Regions from separate parts of the Homo sapiens genome. Here regions 2 and 3 are each linked to region 1. Evidence: promoter capture Hi-C in 16 types of primary human blood cells and fetal thymus (Javierre and others, 2016). All regions are on one chromosome and are shown on one strand. The core of a region is centred on a gene start or on the middle of the fragment in contact, and the rest is flanking DNA. Distances in the headings are between cores, read along the strand shown.

What was found. The method cuts DNA at HindIII sites, captures the fragments that hold promoters and counts their contacts. A CHiCAGO score of 5 or more calls a contact.
Region 2: a fragment that was not itself captured here is called in contact with the fragment with the promoter of LCE5A in region 1 in 4 of 17 cell types (naive B cells, M0 macrophages, total CD4 T cells and 1 more); the score reaches 7.2 in naive B cells.
Region 3: a contact is called between a fragment that was not itself captured here and the fragment with the promoter of LCE5A in region 1, in 1 of 17 cell types (total CD4 T cells). The highest score is 5.2, in total CD4 T cells.

What each region holds. Positions count from the first base shown.
Region 1 is chr1:152,509,135-152,512,571 of GRCh38, reverse strand. LCE5A (late cornified envelope 5A) reads right to left here and starts at 1,769. Exons shown (of 2, transcript NM_178438.5): 1 at 1,574-1,769; 2 at 395-1,058. The coding sequence starts at 1,037. The coding sequence ends at 681. The HindIII fragment of the contact is 1,377 bases long and covers 411-1,787 here.
Region 2 is chr1:152,086,812-152,090,248 of GRCh38, reverse strand. TCHHL1 (trichohyalin like 1) reads left to right here and starts at 1,185. Exons shown (of 3, transcript NM_001008536.2): 1 at 1,185-1,229; 2 at 2,086-2,243; 3 at 2,706-3,437. The coding sequence starts at 2,106. The HindIII fragment of the contact is 182 bases long and covers 1,643-1,824 here.
Region 3 is chr1:152,148,442-152,151,878 of GRCh38, reverse strand. No RefSeq gene overlaps it. Among named protein-coding and RNA genes, the nearest start is that of RPTN, 9.1 kb to the left of the region's middle. The HindIII fragment of the contact is 1,913 bases long and covers 581-2,493 here.

The DNA of each region.
Region 1 (3,437 bases), core at 520-3,019:
GATGAGCACTTCAGGCAATCTTATTCCCCATGAATGGGGACAAGCAATTTTTCAAACTGTGACCCATGCTTGAAGGAAACCCTCTCAGAACCTGAACCTTTTGAGTACAACCATCCTCTTCTCTTCAAACCCATTCCTGGCTCTCCTCATACAATCTTGTGTCTGGCGTAATGGTCTCAGACATTATTCTTTCCTTCAAGCTTAAAGTTCCAGAATCCAGTGCATAGAAGGAAATATTGTTTTCCAGAGGCCTAAGTAGCTTCACTGCCAAAATGTGCTTCCTAAACAAGTTTGTAAAGTGTTCGCTTGCATTTAAGAGAAGGGAAGGGAAGATGGCTTGATGCAGCAGGTAGGGAGTGGGAGAGGCAAACAATGAAATCAGGAGGCAGTGATATCAGGAATAAAAAGCTTTATTGTTACAGAGAAAATAGCTTCATAACTGAATTACAACACCTAGTTCTCCAAAGAGCTATGTCTGAGAGGGAAAGCCAGGCCAGAAAATATCACAAGCTAGACTTCAACCCTACAATGGAGTGAACATGGGCAGGATAAAGAGGGGAACTTAAGGCATTTCCGAAGTCCTTCCATGGGAAATGAGAGAAAAGAAGCCTCAGGCTGACACACATCTTCAGCACCTGGGATCTGCCAGTCCTTCTCCTCCGTGCTCCTCATGGCCCAGGTCAGCAGCAGCCTCCAGAGCTGTGGCAGCAGCCAGAGCCCCCAGAGCTGTGGCAGCAGCTGGAGCCCCCAGACTGCTGGCCACTGCCACTGCCACAGCAGCTGGAACTCTGAGGTCGGCGTCGGAGGGACTGGCGGGGCCTGTGGTGGCTCAGGCAGCAGCCACCACCCTCAGAGCTGCAGCAGCCCCCAGAGCTGGAACCACAGCAGGAAGAGACTGGAGGTGGGCATGGGGCTGAACACTGGGGAGGGCATTTTGGGGGACACTTGGGAGGACACTTAGGAGTACACTTGGGAGGGCATTTAGGGGTACATTTGGGAGGAGGCTGGCACTGCTGCTGGCTCTGCTGGCAGGACATCTCTGTAGAAGCTGAATAAAGCTGAAAGACAATACAAGCCCAAGGTCACTTCCTTGCCCTTAAAATTGAACTATAATTTCACAAGATTTTATCTCTAAGATGACCAGAATTTATTATTATGATTATTATTATTATTTGGGATGGAGTCTCACTCTGTCACTCAGGCTGGAGTGCAGTGGTGCTATCTCGGCTCACTGCAACCTCCACCTCCCGGATTCAAGTGATTCTCCTGCCTCAGACAGGTGTGCACCACCACACCCAGCTAATTTTTGTGTTTTTAGTAGAGACGGGATTTCAGCATGTTGGTCAGTCTCGAACTCCTGACCTCTTGACCCGCCCACCTCAGCCTCCCAAAGTGCTGGGATTACAGGCATGAGCCACTACTCCTGGCCTAAGATGAACCAGATTTTAAAAACCCAGTCTCCCAAGACCAGTAACAAGAATGATACAAATGATTTCCACCTAGTAACTCCATATTTTCAAATGAATAACTTGGAACTTCAGAAAGGCATCAGTCCTTCATTCCTTTTACCTACCTTCCACCCTCCCCTTCCAGAAGAACCTTCCCCTCCAAAATCCTTCTTTATCCTTGTCTTTCTTCAAGAATGGCCTCAACCTCCACCCAGGGGCTCTTTCTGCCCAAAACACCAGCACCAAGAGTTCATCCTGGTCCTGAGAAGCACTCTACCTGGTTCAGGCACTGCAGCAGATCACTCAGGAGACAGGTAGACTGAGGTGCTGTCAGAAGCTTCTGCCTTTTATACAATTCAGTCCTGACCTAGCATCAGGAGGTGCAGACCATGTGCGGGACGCTAGAAGCATCTTTCATAAAGGCATGGGTGACTCCCTCCCCTCGCATCCCAGGGACCCAGTTCCTCCCTGCATAAGCATCTCAAGTATTAACCCACAGGAAGATCCCCTGAGAACTGCAGGCCTCTAGGATGGTGAGGGAGCTCTGTGAATTGCACATGGCACCTATCTATCTCACAGGCAGCTCTGCTATGCCTTCTATTTTCTGAGCTGGGCCAATACGGCTCTACACCTCTGGAATGAACAGAAGTTCTGTTTTCTCTTTGGTATAGGAACTGAAGGAGAAAATTCCCAAGATGGAAATTAAATGGCCCTTTTTAGAATAATAATAGAGATCCAAAATAAAATTGTAGGCCCAAGCAAATAATCTAACATGATTTTTTTTTCATTTCTAGATGATGCCATAACCAGAACAAGGAAGGTTTGATATCTCAGTGATGTTATTTTAGGCAGATCTAATGCTGACAGTGTGGGTGGTTGGGCTTCTCTCCTTGCCTGAATTTGATGCTCCAAAACTGCTCACAAACAGTACCGATTCAGCACTAACAATGCCTTTAAAAGGGCAGAAGTCTAGGAATGGCTTATTTACTCGTGTTAAAGAAGGTGCCCTTGGCCAGCTCGAGGTGAGGCAGCAAAGACCAGGTGTATACTGAGGGTGGAGCAAAAGCTCTCCACTCATCTGGAGGTTTCCAGAAGTGAGGCACCAGTTCTGGTCATTCATAAGAGAAGAGCATCCAACCTGGGAAGGACCTCAGGAGAAGATTAATCTTTGGATGGAGAGGTGAAGAGGAGGAGTATATAGGTTTTAAAAGCCCATGGTGGGATCCAAAACATTTTCTCAGCAAACAATATTCTGAGGGAAAGTTGGGTCCCCAGGATAGTTATCAAAATTGACTTAGCTGGAAAGGGTGGCCAAAATATGGCATATTCACAATGAAAGCTGCAGTGAGAGAAAATAAGACTGGGAGAAAAAGGCAGTACCTTAGCTCCATGCTCTTTGAAATGGGCTGCAGTGAGAAGCATCAGCCCAGTTATAACACAGACCCTGGAGAGGGACATCCAGCATCAGTTCCCACCCTTGCTCTCTCCACCTGTGCAACCTCTGGCAAGTTACTTAACCATCACTGGAAAAGGGGGCTGAAAACATTCCTAATCCACTGAATAAAGAAATACAGATGAAGTTCTTAGCACAGTTCCTAGAACTGCAAGTTTAAAAAAGAAAAAACTAATCACTATGGCTATCCTTATTTCCATGAGAAAATATATGCTAAATTTCAAATTACTGACCTGCCAATTTTGAAACCAAAACTAATTTTTATGATATCAGAACTTAGACTCGATGTTTTCTTACAGCAAAATATTAAGAGTATTTGCTTGTCACTAGGGAATGAGATTATAAAGAAAGCATACTCATTATTTAAAAACACCAAAAAATAGGAAGAATTTTAAAATCACCTATAATCCCATCCCTAAAATATGGTTACTATTTTGCTATTTTCCTTCCCGTCATTTTTTTCTATATATAGTGGTTTTGTTGTTGTTGTTGTTATTTGAGTTTTGTTTGTATTTTACATAGTCTTTCTCATAGTA
Region 2 (3,437 bases), core at 484-2,983, 420 kb after region 1:
GGGGATATTAACTAATCAGAACTAAGATGACCTTCACATGCCAATTCCAATTCCCAGAAGTCTTCTCCCTTTGGGAGGATGCTGAGAAATTGTTTGTAGGTGTAAAGTATCAGTATGAATGTTTTTCCCCAAAATTTAGTTCCCTTGTATGTTCCTCGATAATCAGGAAATTCAGAATAAGGTTTTTGCTCAATAGCAATGCATCCCTTAGCTTCAGCTTTCTCATATAATTACCCCCATTCCCACCCCATCTTTAACTTGGTCTGTGTCTTTTATATTTGTTTGCATTGATCTGTCTATTTCTTCCATCCTTTGACAAGGAGTGTTTTAAAACATACTCTATTTTTTAAAAATATCTAAGAAAACCATTGAATCTAATTCTTATTTTATTAAATATTCTCTACTAAGAAGGACCCAGATCTAGGAGACAATTAAAATGTTTGCCAGTTCAGCATCTCAGACTCACTTCTGTTCTCAGCTTGATGATTTCAACATCTCCCTTTCCCCTTTACAGGGAGAACACAGTAATATAGATTATTGGTTTCAAGCTCCTTGTATAGTAAAAATGTCTTTAGAAAGCAAATATCAATCACGTTTTTAAAATAGCACAACATAGGTAAGCAAGGCTTTGCACACCAAGCAAGAATTTTTTTTTTTTTCTAACTCTGCCTCTGGGCAAGGAGAGCAAAGCATTGAAACATCTGAATCAACTGGTATCTCCACTTTTGTCACATGGCTAAATGGGGGCCTTTATTTTTAAACACATGATTGACACCCATCTCTCAGGTTTGGGTCAAATACGGGCCATCTTGTGGGCAGACAGAGGAATCAGATGACTTATGAGGTCCCTGCCAGCACTATGATTTGTCAGACAGAAATGTAATTATGTCCTTAGGTTAAAAAATGGGGGAGGGAAGCCAACACTACCTTGAAGAGCCTTCAAAACTATAATCTGCAAAAGTCAGTAAATGAATCAAGAAACCCCCTCCCCTTTCTTTTGATGCATCTGAAGCTAAGATTTAATTGAAACTGCCTAAAGAAGGAAATAAAATTAAGACAACTGACAACAGAGCAGGGGAGACTGGATTTGGTGGTGATGTCAGGTCATTAGACCCAGAGGGTGTCTCCTTCTTAACTGTGCAATTAGGACCTCAATAAAAGGTTCCAGCTCCTGCTGTCAGCTCACAGCCCGCTGCCCCACGTTCTACCTGCTCTCGCTTGTGAACTAGGTAAGTCCATCTGCTTGAGCATACTTGGGATTTCAGTTGCTGTTTTGCTTATATGTGAGATTGCAAGAGGATTTCAAAGGAAACACACTTTAAGTCTATGTCAACCCCTATTAATAATAATAAACTGGGAGCGCCAACCACCCAAATGCATTCCTTGATTATGGAACTTCTTTGATCATTTTCTTTTTAAAAAAAACATAAATTGTTTAGAAGTCATAGGCATGAATATTATTCAACAAGGCACAGGATCAGATCTCTATTGCAATGAAAATGTAGAAGCATTTAAAGGATGGGAAATGAATGAATAAGGGGTCGGGACATGGAATCATGTCTTCTTGGTTAAAGCATGTTGTTACCACCTGCAAACATAGGGGTTAATTTTCTTGGTGTGACTTATCTTTCCACTAGAAGCTTTGCTAACTTTAAAGGTTATACCCTCCTAACCGCAGGAGGCTAGACTGAGCCAAAGGGAGAGGAGAGCAGATAGACACTCTTGGATGAGGCTGGAAGAATGGGTCCAACTCTATTGGCTTCATTTATGCATTTCAATCCTTATGCTTGAGTTCTCTTATCACCTTCCTTTTGCAATGAAGCTTTCTCTGAGCACATGAATGTTGCTGTTTACTGAAGAGTGGGGTGAATTGTCTCTTCTAATACTTACCTATGCTGGGTCTGATTTCACCACAATGTCTGGTACAATACTAAATCACCCCTGGAGTTCAGATATAATATTTTAAGATACAGAATAGAGCAGGGGTTGCAGTGGAGATGGGGGAGGAACAAAAAGGATAATCTTGGTATCTCCTCCCTGAAGGACCCATCCTGGAAAATGAGCTTTGTTTATTCTTTCTCACAGCCTCTCCTGAGTTTGTAAAGATGCCTCAGCTCCTGAGAAATGTCCTCTGTGTAATTGAGACATTCCACAAATATGCCAGTGAGGACAGTAACGGGGCAACACTGACTGGCAGAGAGCTGAAACAACTCATCCAGGGCGAGTTTGGGGACTTTTTTCAGGTGAGCTTCTCACAGAGCTGTGTAAATTCTTTCCAACTCACCCTTTCTTTATAATCCAAGCAAGATGAGCATATGTGATCCCCATCCATTTTACACCTAGCTAACAGTTCTCAGCACTCACTGTCTCTTGAACAACTATTTTCAGTCTCAGTTCCATACTCTGTGCAATTACTTAGAGAAAAAGAGGTTTTCGTCACTGGGATTATTGCTTCTGCAAAGCTGACTTCTGAAAGGAGTCATAAACCATTATGCATCAAAATGCAACTCACAAGTGTTGTAAATGCTCTTTCTCAGGCATAGCTCTCTGATGAAAAATGGCTTGCAGAACCAATAAGTTCTTGCTGTTCTGGGAAAGTTAACCAGTTACTGAGGAATGAGGTCAGAAAAATAGGATTCTTGGGAGACACTTAGGACACTGGACCACATATAAATAAGCTGATTTCTCACTGTGTTTTCATGCAGCCCTGTGTCCTTCATGCTGTGGAAAAAAATTCAAATCTTCTGAATATTGACAGTAATGGCATCATCAGTTTTGATGAATTTGTTCTTGCAATCTTCAACTTGTTGAACCTCTGTTATCTTGACATAAAATCATTACTAAGTTCTGAACTAAGACAGGTGACTAAACCAGAGAAGGAGAAGCTAGATGATGTGGATGTTCAGGCAACCACCGGAGATGGTCAGTGGACAGTGGGAACTTCACCAACTCAAGAAAAGAGGATGCTTCCTTCAGGAATGGCATCATCATCTCAGCTCATCCCTGAAGAAAGTGGAGCAGTTGGAAATAACAGAGTGGACCCATGGAGAGAAGCCAAGACTCACAACTTTCCAGGAGAAGCATCTGAACACAATGATCCTAAGAACAAACACCTGGAAGGAGATGAACAAAGTCAGGAAGTGGCTCAAGATATACAAACAACAGAAGACAATGAAGGCCAACTTAAGACAAATAAGCCAATGGCAGGATCAAAAAAGACCAGCAGTCCCACAGAGAGGAAGGGACAAGATAAGGAGATCTCCCAGGAAGGAGATGAACCAGCCAGAGAGCAAAGTGTTTCCAAGATAAGAGACCAGTTTGGAGAACAGGAAGGAAACTTGGCAACCCAAAGTTCACCACCAAAAGAAGCAACACAAAGACCATGTGAAGATCAGGAAGTTAGAACAGAAAAGGAAAAACACTCTAATATACAAGAA
Region 3 (3,437 bases), core at 288-2,787, 360 kb after region 1:
AATATTCTCTATAATTTAAACTCTCTCCAGCAAACTAAATGAGAAGGTGGAGAATCAGGGTGAAAGAATTCAAAATCTGGAAGCTGCTCAACATTCAGTGCATCATCTACATGCTAAATCCTTTTTTTTTTTTTCTATCTCAAAATACAAAACAGCCCAAATCCATGATTCTTTTCATCTCTACTCCTGTCATCCCAGTCCAGGTCACCTCTCCTAGAACACAGCTTCCTGATGGGACTCCCCATCCCTTTCAAAAAGGTAGACCACATTGTGCCACTCCCTACATGAAATTCCCAGTAGTTTCCCTCCACATTGAGAATAAAATCCAGCTTTGTTCTCAGGACCTTCCTATAGGATGGGGCCCTGCAAAGTCTCATCTTTCACCATTGTCCTCTGCATCACTGTTTTCTAATCACTCTGGCCTTCTTTCCATGATTCTAGCAGGACAAGCTGATCCCCACCGGGAGACCTTTGAACCAGCTATTTCTTTTGATCAGAATAGTCTTCTTCTCGATCTTGGTGTGGCTCAATCCTTATTTCATTCAGGTCTCAGTTAAAAAGTCACCTCGTGACAGAAGCTTTCTCTGGCATTTATTTTAAAAAAGTATCACCCCAATCAGCCTCTACCATATATTCCTCATTTGTGCTGCCAATGTTCTTAACACTTTTCATGTTTGATACCTTGTTTTTATGCTACTCATTTATTATCTTTTTCTCCCTACTGGAATGTAAGGCCCATAAGAACAAGGATTTTGTTTGTCTTGTTTGCTGCTGTTCTCTTGCATTTCGGACAATAGCTTGTCATGATGTACATCCAATAAATAAGTGTTGGTTGAATGCTCATAGAAGCCCTCCATGATCTGGCTTCAGTGTACATTTCCAACTCAGTTTCCAACAATGCCCCTAGACTCCAACTTAACAGGACAACTTCCTAGCCTCCACGTCATTGCTTATACAATTTCTTCCACTTAAACGCTGTCCTGATCTTTGTCTGCCAAAATCCTACCCATTCTTGGGACTGGCACCACCTTCTGCACCTATCATCAGCATACAGCTTATCAGATTGCATTGAAGTAAATTTTAAACCCATGTGTTTCCCACCAAGCAGTAAGGTCCCAGAAGTCAGAAATTGCATCTTATTCACAGTTGTATATTTCACATCGAGCACAGTGACTGACCAATTACATACATGAAGCTGAGATTTAAAATTTTTAAAAGACTTATATTTAAAACCTGCCTTCACCACTTACCAATTTTATGATCTTAAAAAAAATTGTCTCTTTAAGTCTCAGTTTTTGCATCTGTAAAATGGGGTTTAAAAATCCAGTTTAAAAAACAAAAATTAACAAGTGGAACCTAATCAAACTAAAGAGCTTCTGCACAGCAAAAGAAGCCACAGACAGAGTAAATGGAAAACCTACAAAATGGGAGAAAATGTTTGCAAACTATTAATCCAACAAAGGTCCAATATTCAATATCTATAAGGAACTTAAATCAACAAGAGAAAAACAAATAACCCTATTAAAAAATGGGCAAAGGACTTGAGAAACACTTTTCAAAAGAAAACATACAAGCAGCCAGCCAACAAACATGAAAAAATGCTCATCATTAATCATCAGAGAAATGCAAATCAAAACCACAATAAGATACAATCTCACACCAGTCAGAATGGCTATTATTAAAAAGTCAACAAATAACTGATGCTGGCAAGGCTGTGGAGAAAAGAGAATACTTATACACTGTTGTTGGAATATAAATTAATTCAACCACCATGGTAAGCAGTTTGAAGATTTCTCAAAGAACTTAAAACAGAGCTATATCCCATTACTGGGTACATACCCAAAAGAAAATAAAGACTTCTACCAAAAAGACACATGCACTTATATGTTTATTGCAGCATTATTCACAATAGCAAAGACATGGAATCAACCTAGATTCCTATCAATGGTGGATTGGATAAAGAAAATATAGTACATATACACCATGGAATACTACACAGCCATAAAAAACGAACAAAATCATGTCCTTTGCAGCAATATGGATGCAGCTACAGGCCATTATTCTAAGCAAATTAATGCAGAAACAGAAAACAAAATACCACATGTTCTCACTTATAAGTGGGAGCTAAACACTGAGTACACATGGACATAAAGATGGGAACAATATACACTGGGGACCACTAGAGTGGGGAAGGAGGGAAATGAGTGTACATTGAAAAACTTCCTATTGGGTACTAAGCTCAACACCTGGATGATGGGATTCATACCCCAAACCTCACTGTCACGCAATATGTCTATGTAACAAACTTACACATGTACCCTCTAAAGCTAAAAATAAAAGCTGAAGAAAAAATTCCAAAGTTTAAAAATTCTAAAGTTTCTTAGAGATAAATACAGATGATATATACAAAAGTGATTTATAATCTGATCTCTCCTTGTTCATTTACTTGGTATGCATTATCTTTTCTTCTCCTACATTATTTTAATAGAAGCTTAACAAATACATTTTGATATGATTTGGGTATGTGTCTCTTCCAAATCTCACATTAAAGTGTGATCCCCAATGTTGGAGGTGGGGCCTAGTGGGCGGTATTTGGGTCATAGGGGCAGATTCTTCATGAATGTCTTGGTGATGTCCTTGTGGTAATGAGTGAGTTCTCACTCCATGAGGTCATGTGAGATCTGGTTGTTTAAAAGAGCCTGGGACCTCTTCCTTCTCTCTTTTGCTCTCTCTCCTGCCATGTGACATGCCTGTTTGCCCTTCACTTTCCACCATGACTAAAAGCTTCCTAATGCTTTCACCAGAAGTAGATGCTGGCATCACACTTCTTGTACAATCTGAAGAGCTATGATCCAAAATAAACCTCCTTTCTTTATAAATTACCCAGTCTTTTATTATTTCTTATAACAATGCAAAATGTACTAATACAGAAAATTGGTACTGAGAGTAGGGTGTTGCTATAAAGATACCTGAAGATGTGGAAACAGCTTTGGAACTGGGTAATGGGCAGATACTGGAAGAATTTGGAGGTCTCAGAAAAAGACAGGAAGATAAGGGAAAGTTTGGAACTTCTCCAAGACTTGCTAAGTGGTTGTGACCAAAATACTGATTGAAATATGAACAGTGAAGCCCAGGCTGATGAGGTCTCAGATGGAAATGAGAAACTTTTTGGGAACTGGAGCAAAGGTCACCCTTGTTACACTGTTACAAAGAGCTTGGCTGCTAGGGATCTAAGGAAGCATGAACTTAAGAGTGATGACATAGGGTATCTGGTAGAAGAAATTTCTAAGCAGCAAAGCATTCAAGATATGGTGTGGCTGCTTCTAACAGGCTATGATCAGATATGGGAGCAAAGAAGTGACTTAAAGTAGGAACTTGTAATTAAAAGGAAATCAGAGCATAAAAAATCAGAAAATTTGCTAGCTGGCCCTGTAGTA